2 separate regions of the Homo sapiens genome follow, and region 2 is linked to region 1. Evidence: promoter capture Hi-C in human tissues and cell types (Jung and others, 2019). All regions are on one chromosome and are shown on one strand. Each heading gives the region's core, a stretch centred on a gene start or on the middle of the fragment in contact. The rest is flanking DNA. Distances are from core to core; before and after follow the strand shown.

Region 1 (2,855 bases), core at 209-2,708:
TACCCAGGCTGGAGTGCAGTGGTGCAATTTCAGCTCACTGCAACCTCCGCCTCCTGGGTTCAAGTGATTCTCCTGCCTCAGCCTCTGAAGTAGCTGGGACCACAGGCGCGTGTCACCATGCCCGGTTAATTTTGTATTTTTAGTAGAGATGGGGTTTCACCATGTTTGTCAGGCTGGTCTCAAACTCCTGACCTCAGGTATTCCACTTGCCTTGGCCTCTCAAAGCACTGGGATTACAGGCATGAGCCACTGTGCCCGGCCTTGGTTACATTTTTATTCAATAAAGTAAACAAAAAAGTTTTTTTTGAGATAGGGTCTTGCTCTATTGTCTAAGCTGGAGTGCAGTGGTGCATTCATAGCTCACTGCAATCCTGACCTCTCAGGCTCAAGCAATCCTCTCATCTCAGCCTCCTGAGTAGCTGGGATTATAGGAATGCATCACTATGCCCAGCTATTTTTGTATTGTTTGTAGAGATGGGGTTTCACCATGCTGCCCAGGCCAGTCTCAAACTTCTGGGCTCAAATGATCCACCCGCATTGGCCTTCCAAAGTGCTGGGATTACAGGCATGAGTCACAGCACCCGGCAAAATTCAATTTTTAGAGCTTACCCTCAACTGTAACCCCTGTTATAAATTTTAAGCCTCTGATGTCACTAAAACAATATCAAAAGATGTTATAAGAGTTAAACCTCATCATGCTTGCAAAATGAATTGGTAAAATATGATGCCATATTCGTATAGAACAATGGTCTCCAACATTTTTGGCACCAGGGTCTGGTTTTGTGGAAGACGGTTTTTCCACAGACAGGAAGGGGGTGCAGGATGGTTTCAGGATGATTCAAGCACATTACATTTATTGTGCACTTTATTTTTATTATTATTACACGATAATATATAATGAAATAATTATACAACTCATCGTAGTGTATGATCAGTGGGTGCCCTAAGCTTGTTTTCCTGTGACTAGATGATCCCATCTGGGGGTGATGGAAGACAGAGACAGATCATCAGGCATTAGATTCTCATAAAGAGCACACAACCTAGATCCTTTGCATGCACAGTTCACAATAGAGTTCTCGCTCCTATGAGAATCTAATGCTGCTACCGATCTGACAGGAGGTGGAGCTCAGGCAGTGATGCAAGCAATGGGGAGCGGCTGTCAATACAGATGAAGCTTCACTCATTTGCCCACCACTCACCTCCTGCTGTGTGGCCTGGTTGCTAACAGGCTACGGACCAGTACTGGTCCATGGCCAGGGGATTGGGGACCCCGGTATAGAACATTAGTTTTTGTTGTTGTTGTTTAATCTAGTTTCTGAGTAAGACAACACAGGTACGTTGTACAGTGAGAACTGATAACGAATATCACTGTTTCATATGTTAAGTTATCTAAAATGCAAATGTTAATTGATAGTGCCTGGTTTTTTGCTTGCTTGTTTGTTTGCTTATTTCTAAAAATGCTTTCAGGAGCTGCTGGCTGTCAGTGTCCCTGTGCTGTTTGTTTTGCGGTGTTGATGGCACATTTATGACAAGAAACGCCAGACCCAACATTGTCCTGCTGATGGCAGATGACCTTGGAGTGGGGGATTTGTGCTGCTACGGTAATAACTCAGTGAGGTAAAGATGGACTCTGACCCCCTCCCTGTATGTGGGAGTCTCCCTTACCACAGTGTTCACGTCTTTGCCGTTGCAGAGAAGGGTTTCTGGAGAGAAGTCATTGTCTGATGTTATCGGCAGGAATAGCAGAGGTCACTGGGGAAAATTGCAAAATGTCAGGAGACCACTTAACCTCCCAGTTTCCTTAGATTCTAGCTGTTGGTGGTGGCGTTTTCATTGTTGGGCAAAATTTACATTTAAAAATTGGCCTTTTTTGATCAGGCATGGCGGCTCAAGCCTATAATCCCAGCACTTTGGAAGGCCAAGGTGGGAGCATTGCTTGAGCCCAGGAGTTTGCGATCAGCCTGGGCAACACAGGGAGACCCCGTCTCTACAAAAATAATAAAAAAAAAAATCTACTGGGACATGGTGGCGTGTGTCTGTGGTCTCAGCTACTCAGGAGGCTGGGGCAGGAGGATTGCCTGAGCAAGGGAGATTGAGGCTGCAGTGAGCTATGATCCCACCACTGCACTCCAGCCTGGGTGACAGAGGGAGACTCTGTTTAAAAAAAAAAAAAAAAATCACCTTTTAACCATTTTAAAGTGAACAATTCAGTGGCATTTGGTACATTCACAGTGTTGGACAACCGTCACCCCCACAAAGAAGACCCCCATTTCCCATCCTATCCCCATGCCCTGTTAACCACAAATGTACCCTCTGTCTCTATGGATGTGTCTCTTCTTAGAATTTCATATACAAGTAATCATATAAAGTATTTATTTTCTCAGGCTGCCGTGACAAAGGTCCACAGACTGGTTGGCTTAGATAACATCAGCTTATTCTCTCACAGTCCTGGAGGCTGGAAGTTCAAGATCAAAGTGTGGGCAGGGCTGGTTCCTCCTGAGGCCTCTCTCCTGTCCTTGTAGATGCCGTCTTCTCCCTGTGTCTTCACAGGGTCGTCCCTCTGTGTGGGTCTGTGTCCTCATCTCTTCTTCTTATGAGGTGTCTTAGTCTATTTCAGGCTGCTATAAAAGAATACCATAGACTGGGTGGCTTAGAAACAACAGACATTGATTCTCCCACAGTCCTGGAGGCTGGAAGTCTGAGATCAAGGTGTCTGCAGGGCTGGTTCCTCCTGAGGCCTCTCTCCTGGGCTTGGAGATGCCGTCTTCTCCCTGTGTCCTCACAGGGTCATCCCTCTGTGTGTGTCTGTGTCCTCATTTCCTCTTCTTATAAAGACCCCAGTCCTATTGGATAAG
Region 2 (2,700 bases), core at 15-2,514, 54 kb after region 1:
CTGTAGAAAGCAGAGTCACTTAACTAATTCACCAATGAGACTGCAAACCGATGGTCATGGAGCTGCCATGGGAATCTGAATTACAGTCACTTTTATTCTTTGTATTTTATTGTTTGGATTGAAAATGCGGCCAGGCACGGTGGCTCATGCTTGTAATCCCAGCACTTTGGGAGGCTGGGGTGGGTGGATCACCTGAGATCAGGAGTTTGAGACCAGCCTGACCAACATGGTGAAACCCCGTCTCTACTAAAAATACAAAAATTGGGATTCCATTCCAAGATGGCCAAATAGAAACAGCTCCGGTCTACAGCTCCCAGCGTGATCAACACAGAAAACGGGTGATTTCTGCATTTCCAACTGAGGTATCTTGTTCATCTAATTGGGACTGGTTGGACAGTGGGTGCAGCCCACAGAGGGCAAGCCGAAACAGGGCAGGGCATTGCCTCACCTGGGAAGTGTCAGAGGATTTCCCTTTCCTAGCCAAGGAAGCTGTGACAGACTGTACCTGGAAAACTGGGACACTCTCGCCCACATACTGCACTTTTCCAATGGTCTTAGCAAAGAGCACACCAGGAGATTATATCCTGCACCTGGCTCGGCAGTTCCCACTCCCACAGAGCCTTGCTCACTGCTAGCACAGCAGTCTGAGATTGAACTGTGAGGCAGCAGCCTGGCTGGGGGGGTGGGCATCCAACATTGCTGAGGCTTGAGTAGGTAAACAATGTGGCCAGGGAAGCTCGAACTGGGCAGAGCCCACTGCAGCTCAGCAAGGCCTACTGCCTCTGTAGATTCCACCTCTGGGGGCAGGGTATAGCTGAACAAAAGGCAGCAGAAACTTCTGCAGACTTAAACGTCCCTGTCTGACAGCTCTGAAGAGAGCAGTGGTGCTCCCAGCATGGTGTTTGAGGTCTTAGAATGGACAGACTGCCTCCTCAAGTGGGTCCCTGACCCCCTTGTAGCCTAACTGGGAGACACCTCCCAGTAGGGGCCAACTGACAACTCATACAGGTGGTGCCCCTCTGGGACAAAGCTTCCAGAGGAAGGATCAGGCAGCAATATTTGCTGTTCTGCAATATTTGCTGTTCTGCAGCCTCCACTGGTGATATCCAGGCAAACAGGGTCTGGAGTGGACCTCCAGCAAACTCCAACAGACCTGCAGGTGAGGGATCTGACTGTCAGAAGGAAAACTAACAAACAGAAAGGAATAGCATCAACATCAACAAAAAGGACATCTACACCAAAACTCCATCTGTAGGTCACCAGCATCAAAGACAAAAGGTAGGTAAAACCACAAAGATGGAGAGAAACCAGAGCAGAAAAGCTGAAAATTCTAAAAACCAGAGTGCCTCTTCTCCTCCAAAGGGTTGCAGCTCCTCACGAGCAACGGAAGAAAGCTGGATGGAGAATGACTTTGACGAGCTGACAGAAGTAGGCTTCAGAAGGTCGGTAATAACAAACTTCTCCGAGCTAAAGGAAATGTTCAAACCCATCGCAAGGACGCTAAAAACCTTGAAAAAAGATTAGACGAACAGCTAACTAGAATAAATAGTGTAGAGAAGACCTTAAATGACCTGACGGAGCTGAAAACCACAGCATAAGAGCTACGTGATGCATGCCCAAGCTTCAATAGCCGATTCAATCAAGTGGAAGAAAGGGTATCAGTGATTGAAGATCAAATGAATGAAATAAAGTGATAAGAGAAGTTTAGAGAAAAAAGAGTAAAAAGAAATGAACAAAGCCTCCAAGAGATATGGGACTATGTGAAAAGACCAAATCTACATCTGATTGGTGTACCTGAAAGTGACAGGGAGAATGGAACCAAGTTGGAAAACACTCATCAGGATATTATCCAGGAGAACTTCCCCAACCTAGCAAGGCAGGCCAACATTCAAATTCAGGAAATATAGAGAAAGCCACAAAGATACTCCTCGAGAAGACACATAATTGTCAGATTCACCAAAGTTGAAATGAAGGAAAAAATGTTAAGGGCAGCCAGAGAGAAAGGTCGGGTTACCCACAAAGGGAAGCCCATCAGACTAACAGTGGATCTCTCGGCAGAAACTCTACAAGCCAGAAGAGAGTGGGGGCCAATGTTCAACATTCTTAAAGAAAAGAATTTTCAATCCAGAATTTCATATCCAGCCATACTAAGCTTCACAAGTGAAGGAGAAATAAAATCCTTTACAGACAAGCAAATGCTGAGAGATTTTGTCACCACCAGGCCTGCCCTACGAGAGCTCCTGGAGGAAGCACTAAACATGGAAAGGAACAACCAGTACCAGCCACTGCAAAAACATGCCAAATTGTAAAGACCATCGATGCTAGGAAGAAACTGCATCAACTAACGAGCAAAATAACCAGCTAACATCATAATGACAGGATCAAATTCACACCTAACAATATTAACCTTAAATGTAAATGGGTTAACTGCCCTGATTAAAAGACACAGACTGGCAAATTGGATAGAGTCAAGACCCAACAGTGTGCTGTATTCAGGAGACCCATCTCATGTGCAGAGACACATGTAGGCTCAAAATAAAGGGATGGAGGAAGATCTACCAAGCAAATGGAAAGCAAAAAAAAAGCAGAGGTTACAATCCTAGTCTCTGATAAAACAGACTTTAAACCAACAGAGATCAAAAGAGAGAAAGAAGGCCGTTACATAATGGTAAAGGGATCAATTCAACAAGAAGACCTAAC

The links. Contacts are between HindIII fragments. The study calls those that stand out against the background at their distance.
Region 2: a fragment that was not itself captured here is called in contact with the fragment with the promoter of ARSH in region 1 in 2 of the 25 tissues and cell types used here (pancreas and small bowel).

Annotation. Positions count from the first base shown.
Region 1 is chrX:3,005,088-3,007,942 of GRCh38, forward strand. ARSH (arylsulfatase family member H) reads left to right here and starts at 1,459. Exons shown (of 9, transcript NM_001011719.2): 1 at 1,459-1,617. The coding sequence starts at 1,526. The HindIII fragment of the contact is 37,610 bases long and covers 1-2,855 here.
Region 2 is chrX:3,059,053-3,061,752 of GRCh38, forward strand. All of the region lies in intron 1 of ARSF (arylsulfatase F), which reads left to right. Among named protein-coding and RNA genes, the nearest start is that of ARSF, 19 kb to the left of the region's middle. The HindIII fragment of the contact is 3,666 bases long and covers 1-2,700 here.